Regions from separate parts of the Homo sapiens genome. Here region 2 is linked to region 1. Evidence: promoter capture Hi-C in 16 types of primary human blood cells and fetal thymus (Javierre and others, 2016). All regions are on one chromosome and are shown on one strand. Each heading gives the region's core, a stretch centred on a gene start or on the middle of the fragment in contact. The rest is flanking DNA. Distances are from core to core; before and after follow the strand shown. Region 1 overlaps MCL1 (MCL1 apoptosis regulator, BCL2 family member). Region 2 holds the start of H2AC18 (H2A clustered histone 18).

Region 1 (5,171 bases), core at 252-2,751:
AATCTTGGTTTTCTCTAGGCAATTTTTTGTTCCAATTCAGTTGAATACTCTTCAGTGGATTCAAACCATGAAAAAATAAGTCACCAGGGGAGGATAGCTGAAATAATTCCTAAGGCGGTGCCTGTTTTAATGGAGAAGATATGGGGTGGAGCCTGCGTTTTAAACAAACCCAGATCTGATGCAGGATGTACTTAACTACGTTGAGAAAAACTGATCTGCGCAATTGAGGCGTTACTGAAATATTAGGTGGTGGAGATTTGAGAATAAGGGTTTTCGTCTTTTACCTCATGGGAACTCTGGAAGTCCTTTTGTTAGGATAAATCCTAATAAGACCAAGATAGTACTGTAAAATGAAGTTTAATTATCATGGGTCCCCGCTTAAGAAACTGAAGAACTTATTTTCTTTTTTTGCCCCGGGGTGAATAATAATTGGTTTACTATTGCTTTAGGGGGAAACCTTAGATATTTTAATTTACCTTCTCTCTGGATAGTAGTGTTGTAAGAGAGCAGAAACCCATACTTGAAAATGTGCTTTTCTTTTTTGTTTTCTAGGATGGGTTTGTGGAGTTCTTCCATGTAGAGGACCTAGAAGGTGGCATCAGGAATGTGCTGCTGGCTTTTGCAGGTGTTGCTGGAGTAGGAGCTGGTTTGGCATATCTAATAAGATAGCCTTACTGTAAGTGCAATAGTTGACTTTTAACCAACCACCACCACCACCAAAACCAGTTTATGCAGTTGGACTCCAAGCTGTAACTTCCTAGAGTTGCACCCTAGCAACCTAGCCAGAAAAGCAAGTGGCAAGAGGATTATGGCTAACAAGAATAAATACATGGGAAGAGTGCTCCCCATTGATTGAAGAGTCACTGTCTGAAAGAAGCAAAGTTCAGTTTCAGCAACAAACAAACTTTGTTTGGGAAGCTATGGAGGAGGACTTTTAGATTTAGTGAAGATGGTAGGGTGGAAAGACTTAATTTCCTTGTTGAGAACAGGAAAGTGGCCAGTAGCCAGGCAAGTCATAGAATTGATTACCCGCCGAATTCATTAATTTACTGTAGTGTTAAGAGAAGCACTAAGAATGCCAGTGACCTGTGTAAAAGTTACAAGTAATAGAACTATGACTGTAAGCCTCAGTACTGTACAAGGGAAGCTTTTCCTCTCTCTAATTAGCTTTCCCAGTATACTTCTTAGAAAGTCCAAGTGTTCAGGACTTTTATACCTGTTATACTTTGGCTTGGTTTCCATGATTCTTACTTTATTAGCCTAGTTTATCACCAATAATACTTGACGGAAGGCTCAGTAATTAGTTATGAATATGGATATCCTCAATTCTTAAGACAGCTTGTAAATGTATTTGTAAAAATTGTATATATTTTTACAGAAAGTCTATTTCTTTGAAACGAAGGAAGTATCGAATTTACATTAGTTTTTTTCATACCCTTTTGAACTTTGCAACTTCCGTAATTAGGAACCTGTTTCTTACAGCTTTTCTATGCTAAACTTTGTTCTGTTCAGTTCTAGAGTGTATACAGAACGAATTGATGTGTAACTGTATGCAGACTGGTTGTAGTGGAACAAATCTGATAACTATGCAGGTTTAAATTTTCTTATCTGATTTTGGTAAGTATTCCTTAGGTTTTTCTTTGAAAACCTGGGATTGAGAGGTTGATGAATGGAAATTCTTTCACTTCATTATATGCAAGTTTTCAATAATTAGGTCTAAGTGGAGTTTTAAGGTTACTGATGACTTACAAATAATGGGCTCTGATTGGGCAATACTCATTTGAGTTCCTTCCATTTGACCTAATTTAACTGGTGAAATTTAAAGTGAATTCATGGGCTCATCTTTAAAGCTTTTACTAAAAGATTTTCAGCTGAATGGAACTCATTAGCTGTGTGCATATAAAAAGATCACATCAGGTGGATGGAGAGACATTTGATCCCTTGTTTGCTTAATAAATTATAAAATGATGGCTTGGAAAAGCAGGCTAGTCTAACCATGGTGCTATTATTAGGCTTGCTTGTTACACACACAGGTCTAAGCCTAGTATGTCAATAAAGCAAATACTTACTGTTTTGTTTCTATTAATGATTCCCAAACCTTGTTGCAAGTTTTTGCATTGGCATCTTTGGATTTCAGTCTTGATGTTTGTTCTATCAGACTTAACCTTTTATTTCCTGTCCTTCCTTGAAATTGCTGATTGTTCTGCTCCCTCTACAGATATTTATATCAATTCCTACAGCTTTCCCCTGCCATCCCTGAACTCTTTCTAGCCCTTTTAGATTTTGGCACTGTGAAACCCCTGCTGGAAACCTGAGTGACCCTCCCTCCCCACCAAGAGTCCACAGACCTTTCATCTTTCACGAACTTGATCCTGTTAGCAGGTGGTAATACCATGGGTGCTGTGACACTAACAGTCATTGAGAGGTGGGAGGAAGTCCCTTTTCCTTGGACTGGTATCTTTTCAACTATTGTTTTATCCTGTCTTTGGGGGCAATGTGTCAAAAGTCCCCTCAGGAATTTTCAGAGGAAAGAACATTTTATGAGGCTTTCTCTAAAGTTTCCTTTGTATAGGAGTATGCTCACTTAAATTTACAGAAAGAGGTGAGCTGTGTTAAACCTCAGAGTTTAAAAGCTACTGATAAACTGAAGAAAGTGTCTATATTGGAACTAGGGTCATTTGAAAGCTTCAGTCTCGGAACATGACCTTTAGTCTGTGGACTCCATTTAAAAATAGGTATGAATAAGATGACTAAGAATGTAATGGGGAAGAACTGCCCTGCCTGCCCATCTCAGAGCCATAAGGTCATCTTTGCTAGAGCTATTTTTACCTATGTATTTATCGTTCTTGATCATAAGCCGCTTATTTATATCATGTATCTCTAAGGACCTAAAAGCACTTTATGTAGTTTTTAATTAATCTTAAGATCTGGTTACGGTAACTAAAAAAGCCTGTCTGCCAAATCCAGTGGAAACAAGTGCATAGATGTGAATTGGTTTTTAGGGGCCCCACTTCCCAATTCATTAGGTATGACTGTGGAAATACAGACAAGGATCTTAGTTGATATTTTGGGCTTGGGGCAGTGAGGGCTTAGGACACCCCAAGTGGTTTGGGAAAGGAGGAGGGGAGTGGTGGGTTTATAGGGGGAGGAGGAGGCAGGTGGTCTAAGTGCTGACTGGCTACGTAGTTCGGGCAAATCCTCCAAAAGGGAAAGGGAGGATTTGCTTAGAAGGATGGCGCTCCCAGTGACTACTTTTTGACTTCTGTTTGTCTTACGCTTCTCTCAGGGAAAAACATGCAGTCCTCTAGTGTTTCATGTACATTCTGTGGGGGGTGAACACCTTGGTTCTGGTTAAACAGCTGTACTTTTGATAGCTGTGCCAGGAAGGGTTAGGACCAACTACAAATTAATGTTGGTTGTCAAATGTAGTGTGTTTCCCTAACTTTCTGTTTTTCCTGAGAAAAAAAAATAAATCTTTTATTCAAATACAGGGTGTGATATGGGTCTTTTCTCATCGACGCCTCTTTTTCCTTCCCTCTCTTAGGCAAACCTTTTAGAGAAGTCAGCTGAGCAAATATGTACAGGTGAATTCAAAGCAAAAGCCTCACAAAGTTGATTTGCCTTAGAGCAAAGGACAGTTCCTTTCTTCAATTCTAATTAGAGGTGTTGGGTTTTTAATTAAATATATTACTGCTGTACTTAGAGGAGTTCTTAAACCTCCAAGTAAAATCAAAAACCTCTTTAAAATCAAAATTTCTGTCTTGATTTATTTATTTATTATTTTTTTTTTGAGATGGAGTTTTGCTCTTGTTGTCCAGGCTGGAGTGCAATGGCACGATCTCCGCTCACCGCAACCTCCGCCTCCCAGGTTCAAATGATTCTCCTGCCTCAGCCTCCTGAGTAGCTGGGAATACAGGCATGCGCCACCACACCCAGATAATTTTGTATTTTTAGTAGAGATGGGGTTTCTCCGTGTTGGTCAGGCTGGTCTTGAACTCCCGACCTCAGGTGATCTGCCCACCTCTGCCTCCCAGAGTGCCAGGATTACAGGCGTGAGCCATCGCACCCAGCCTCTGTCTTGATTTTTTTGAATCACCAGGTGTTGGTATGTTTTGTTTTGTTTTGTTTTGAGGCACAGTCTCACTCTTTTGCCCAGGCTAGAGTGCAGTGGGGCAATCTCGGCTCACTGCAACCTCAGCCTCCCGAGTAGCTGGGATTACAGGTGCCCGCCACCATGCCCGGCTAATTTTTCTATTTTTGGTAGAGACGGGGTTTTGCCGTGTTGGTCAGGCTGGTCTTGAAGTCCTGACCTCAGTGATCCACTCGCCTCAGCCGAAGTGCTGCGATTACAGACCTGAGCCACTGCGCCCAGCCTTGATCTTGAGGTAAGAGGGTACTGTACAGCAGTTACTCTATCATAACACCTAAATAATACCTAAAGTTAAAGAGTTTTGATGAAGTTCTTGGCAGCAGTGCTTTTCCCCTTCTGCTTTCCAAAAGGAGGTAAAAAGAAGCCAGTCAATTTCAAAAACCCCTATCCTGCTTTTATTTTCAGCTACCTTGAAAGTGAGCTGAATCACCATGGAAATGTGCAAATGTGAGGTTTGCATACTTGGTTTTAAGCCCTGAGCACCATATGCTAATCAGGCAATCAGGATTCTGTGCCTCCCTGCAGTCAGTTGCATTTCTATTTAAAAGTGCATTTTGGTTTGGAAGCCCCTTTCTGGAGCCTAACTACCAAAAGGCAGCAACTTTTTGTATCATTACAAAGAAAGCTGTGTAAGTGCACTCCCAAGCAAAGGTGTGGTAGGAGAGTAGCAGCCACAGAGGACCCAAGCCCAAGTCTTGGCCTGAGTTAAGTTAGTGCTATTGCTCCCATTGACGTGCTATGATGTGAAGCCGTTTCTGGTACAGTGTTCCTTTGCTCAGCACCTTAAAAGCTTGGATTTAATAGTAACTGGGTAACCTTAATCAGTAGTCAGAATTATCAACACTTTGCTTTATTTGACACAACCAGACTTTCTCAGTTCCTGTTCTGTATCTAGAGCAACGTCTTCATACTGTTTTTTCACAAAATTTTTATTTAAAACAGTTGTGACAGCCGAAGGATTTTTTTTTTTTTTTTTACAAAATTAAAATGAAATAACTTGTACAACTGGTGCGTACCATGG
Region 2 (5,267 bases), core at 2,642-5,141, 730 kb after region 1:
TAAGGCAAATGCAGCAAAATTGTAATAATTGGTGAATCCAGGTGAAGGGACTATGGCTGGTCTTTGTACTTTTTTTTCCAACTTTTCTGTAGGTTTAAAATTTTCAAAATAAAAAAATGGGAAATACTTTAAAAATTGTAATCAAAGACATTAGTACAGAAACTTTCATAATGTATTTTATTTTTACAGTAAAATTAATTTATGTAAATTGATAGAATTTTACTAATTTCACTCCCAAGTTACATTAAAAGGCTTACATATGTTTGATAATAGCATATGTAAACTAGAACTCTGAATGATATCCATTGGTCATAATACGTACTATGTAGCGGTAATGGTGACTTTTGTGATTGCACAAGTCTAGAGATGCCCCAAATGACATTGACTTAGACATCTGGTTATTCTAAGGCTGAAACTGAAGTTGAATAGAAGGTTTTAGTCAAATACTGAGATGAAAACTGAGGCAGTCCTGGCGGGGGGGAGTGAGTGTGTGTGTATATATACACACATAGACATCATGCTTCTAAACATTTACAGAAAGAAAGGGTAGATTATCTACAAAAAAATAAGAATCAGACTGATATGAGATCTTACAAACCTAACCCCCTTCTCTTTCCTAAACTCCAGATTCTCATATTTCTGACTTCCTATTTGATATTTACACTTCGATATTTACCAGGAGTCTTCAACATTTTGTTCAAAACAGTACTCTTGGTTTTCTTCCTCCAAGACTACTCCTTACTCATATCAGCAAATAGCAGCTCTTTTCAAGTGCTCAGTGTAAAAACCTACAATTAATCCTTGATTTCTCTTTCAGTCAGCCTATACTAAATCAATTTCATTTAAAATATCTCGGCTACTACTCTGCATCTCCACTGCTACCATCGGCCTCTCCAGTCACATTCTCCAAGAGCACTCTATCTCATTTAAAAGACAAAATCTCTGCAGTGGCCTGTGATGCTCCTTAATGGCCTACATAATCCAGCCCTCAAGCACCTCCGTGATCTCTGTAAAACTTTCCCTTGGTCACTGTGCTTCAGCCACATTAACCAGCTTGCATATTTCTCACATTCACCAAGCTTGTTCCTGCCTTGGGGCCTTTGTACTTACCATGTTCTGTTCTGAGAATACTCTGCCTCAAGATATCCTACAACTATCTTACTGTATTCAGCTCTCTGCTCAAGTATTAACTGATGAAACCTGTCATCCCTACTCCACTCCATGTTCTGCTTTACTTAACAGCAATTGCACATATGGCCCCCTGAATAATATACATTTAGTCACTTATTTTTACTTATCTGCTAATTAAAATGTAGACTTTTTCTATTCTGTTTACTGCTGTATTCCCAGCATGTTTTATCCGAATGTGCAGTGGTTTCTTTTCTTCTCCCTTATCGTGGGAAGTGATGTGCACAAATACACATAATGGAGCCTGAATGTCATATTGCTTTCATACCTGTGTGAATTTTGGTAAGAAAGGAAAAGTAGCGATTGACAGGTAATATAATTACATTAAGTCACTCTCATAGTTAGCTGTTTATTGCTTTCCTGCTCTTATTCTCAGTCCCCAGGACCAAATGTTGACCACTACCTTCCCCCACATATAATTAGGTTATTTACCGAACGCCATGCAGGTGGCTGTTAAAAGGAAGATATATACTTACCTTATAAACTCAACTTTTCCCTGTTGTCTTTCTGTCTCACCCCTACCTCCATGCTTTAAATTAACTTTTCAGGCTTAGGCCTTATCTCTCAGTAGAGCCATATAAGGTATGTGTAAAAGCAGGAAAATGTTTCCTGGGGATGAAGCTTTGAAAAGCTTTTTTTTTTTTTTCTTTTGGCAATAAAATAAGGTAGATTCAGCACAATACCTAATAACTAAAAAATCTGTTTTTAATTGGGTGGGGCAGACAGCAAGTGTGTCATCCTGGAAGATACTATTTGGGATTTTATGTAGGTACATAAGAGAAAAAAGTGAACAAAAGCAAGGGGCTACCAGGACGCCGCAGTATGCTTAACATGTATTTTCTAAGTTTGTATTATGCCTTTATCTTGGTACTTTTATCTTCTGTTCTCACTTGATCTTTTTGAAATGTATTTTAAATCCTAATAAAAATATATAAAGTCTGGAATTAATAAAGGATTAAATGAAACTTTTGTATATCTCACTGAAATTCTCAGAAAAAAGGGGGGTGTGGGGAGGGGGAATTGCCTGGGGTAGTGAGTGAAAATTGTGACCAGGTTCTTACTAAGGAATATGGCAACTGCATAATCAAATGTCAGTGGTTACCAAACTTATGAATCACCTGGTGTTGTGTCATAGATTGTCTATCCTTGCCTCTCGCCCCCAGTGATTTAGATCAGTGGAACTATGTGGGGTTTAAGAAATATACAATATATATTTGTATATATTTGTGTGTCTCGAAAGCTTCAGGGTTAAATAAGTTTTAACTGTTTAGGAAACACTATTGTTTTAGGTATCCAGTCTCAAAGACGAAGGCCTTTAAAACTTACTTAATTTTTCATTACATTTCTTGCCCAGAAAATTGTAAAATACCCAACGATAACAATGGGGAATTGTCTATCAGCACTTGACTAAAAAGCTTTACTATCCATGACAGCAGCCTTTGCATTACTCAATTCTGATGGCATTTAACGTCTTGAAACCCAGAAATAAATACCTATAGACTCACAGTACCTGAAAGGAATACCAAATTGAGACAAGAGAGCTATATAAACCAAAAATTGCTTCAACCACAGAATGGAGGTCTACAGGTGCGGAAGGAAAGTTTATATGGTGAGGCTTGGTCGCAAAACTATTAGGAATATTTTCAGGTTACTACACAATTTTGCGAGCTCAATATGCAGTTAACACTTTTTCCCTTGACTCTCCTGAGCAGATTTACATTGACCGCACCCGTAGCATATCGTCTCACTTTGGAAAAGGCAAATTATGTGCACATGACCCTGTCACTACAAGGTAGTTCTCGACCAAGCTACATCTTATAGCTTTATCTTATATTCCTCTCCCATCATCTGCAGGAAAAGGGATAGGTGCTGAGGGAAAACCCCTAAGTAGAACTCACAGTAAGCAGTGGGAAAACAGCTTATTTCACTAACGGGGTTAAGTGGCCCTGAAAAGAGCCTTTGGAGACAAAGCAGCCGGCGACCCGCGGAGGGAGGGAGGGAGGGAGCGAGCGAGCGCCAGGTCCCGGCAGGGACTCACTTGGAGCTGGCGTACTTGGTGACCGCCTTGGTGCCCTCGGACACGGCGTGCTTGGCCAGCTCGCCGGGCAGCAGCAGGCGCACGGCCGTCTGGATCTCCGGGACGTGATGGTGGAGCGCTTGTTGTAGTGCGCCAGGCGGGACGCCTCTCCCGCGATGCGCTCGAAGATGTCGTTGAGGAAGGAGTTCATGATGCCCATGGCCTTGCACCAGATGCCGGTGTCGGGGTGGACCCGCTTCAGCACCTTGTACACGTAGATGGAGTAGCTCTCCTTGCGGCTGCGCTTGCGCTTCTTGCCGTCTTTCTTCTGGGCTTTGGTGACGGCTTTCTTGGAGCCCTTCTTGGGAGCCGGCGCGAACTTTGCAGGCTCAGGCATGGCCAGACCCAAGACCGACACCGACCCCCGAGAACGCAAGCAGAGCGGTAGGCTCGGGGTCTACCGGAAACGACTGTGTACTTACAGAGGCTGTGCGCATGACGCTGCGTTATGGTTCGCGAGTTTTCCGCGGCGCGCAATGCGAGGGAGACGAGATTATGTAAATGAGTGGATTCTGGCTGAGCTATCCTATTGGCTATCGGGACAAAATTTGCTTGAGCCAATCAAAGTGCTCCGTGGACAATCGCCGTTCTGTCTATAAAAAGGTGAAGCAGCGGCGTTTTCGGCGACTTTCCCGATCGCCAGGCAGGAGTTTCTCTCGGTGACTACTATCGCTGTCATGTCTGGTCGTGGCAAGCAAGGAGGCAAGGCCCGCGCCAAGGCCAAGTCGCGCTCGTCCCGCGCTGGCCTTCAGTTCCCGGTAGGGCGAGTGCATCGCTTGCTGCGCAAAGGCAACTACGCGGAGCGAGTGGGGGCCGGCGCGCCCGTCTACATGGCTGCGGTCCTCGAGTATCTGACCGCCGAGATCCTGGAGCTGGCGGGCAACGCGGCTCGGGACAACAAGAAGACGCGCATCATCCCTCGTCACCTCCAGCTGGCCATCCGCAACGACGAGGAACTGAACAAGCTGCTGGGCAAAGTCACCATCGCCCAGGGCGGCGTCTTGCCTAACATCCAGGCCGTACTGCTCCCTAAGAAGACGGAGAGTCACCACAAGGCAAAGGGCAAGTGAGGCTGACGTCCGGCCCAAGTGGGCCCAGCCCGGCCCGCGTCTCGAAGGGGCACCTGTGAACTCAAAAGGCTCTTTTCAGAGCCACCCACGTTTTCAAATAAAAGAGTTGTTAATGCTGGCCACTCTCAGTCCAGCGTTCCTCAGTAGTGAATAGCGAACCTGGAGCTGACGGGACGGGACGGGACGGGACGGGACGGGACGGGGCGGGGCGGGGCGGGGTGTGTGTGTGTGCGCGCCGTCTTCCATCTGGAGCACGTAACTGCCTTGGCTCTTCGATGAGTGGGTCCCCAGTCCTAGGACTTCCCAGGGCAGGTGCAGGCACCAAACGTCCTGGGCGCCGCCACGGTCCGCTCCACACAGTCACAAACACCAGCGCCGCGGGCAGTACCCAACGCGCTGAAGTGTTGCGCGCGGAGCGCGCGCTTCCCTAGTGGTTTCCGCAGGCTATGGCCGGACACTTAGACCTAGTCTGGCACCAGCGGGACGTGCTCCTCGTCCCCACCCCCGATGGGGAGGGCCCTGAGCGGGTAGTGCTCGCTAGTGTGGCGGAGCTGGGTCTTGGCTTCACTGAGCTGACTTAAGTCTTAGTTTCTGTTTTGTTTTCCAAAGCGCCCTGGCGGCGGAGAGTAAGGGCCTCGGAGGCGGAATCTTGCGTCCTGGGGGCGGGCACCTCTCCCACCCAAAAGGCACCCGACAGGCGAAAAACGATCCGCCAAGTAGCAACTGGGGGCGGGGGGCAAATGGAAGAATGAGGTTCCACGCGGGAGCTGTAGGGCGCAGCAAGAAAGGGGGGGTATTGCGGGCAGTGTGTTCTAAGGAAGCGAAGGGCGGAAAGGGAACAATCTGACAAAGCTGCAATGGAAAATGACTTTCACCCTGAAGGAAAGGGGAAAAACAAGCTTGCGAAACTTCGCCAACTGGTAAGTAGAAAG

The links. The method cuts DNA at HindIII sites, captures the fragments that hold promoters and counts their contacts. A CHiCAGO score of 5 or more calls a contact.
Region 2: a contact is called between the fragment with the promoter of H2AC18 here and a fragment that was not itself captured in region 1, in 1 of 17 cell types (fetal thymus). The highest score is 5.1, in fetal thymus.

The regions. Positions count from the first base shown.
Region 1 is chr1:150,572,873-150,578,043 of GRCh38, reverse strand. MCL1 (MCL1 apoptosis regulator, BCL2 family member) reads left to right here. Exons shown (of 3, transcript NM_021960.5): 3 at 553-3,486. The coding sequence ends at 669. It overlaps ADAMTSL4-AS1 (ADAMTSL4 antisense RNA 1), which reads left to right and starts at 3,492. Exons shown (of 4, transcript NR_104133.1): 1 at 3,492-3,920; 2 at 4,223-4,385. RefSeq lists enhancers at 1-16, 1-176. The HindIII fragment of the contact is 703 bases long and covers 1,150-1,852 here.
Region 2 is chr1:149,841,374-149,846,640 of GRCh38, reverse strand. H2AC18 (H2A clustered histone 18) reads left to right here and starts at 3,891. Exons shown (of 1, transcript NM_003516.3): 1 at 3,891-4,423. The coding sequence starts at 3,943. The coding sequence ends at 4,335. It also overlaps the pseudogene H2BC19P and a transcript of H4C15 not described here. RefSeq lists an enhancer at 553-1,316. The HindIII fragment of the contact is 2,631 bases long and covers 2,606-5,236 here.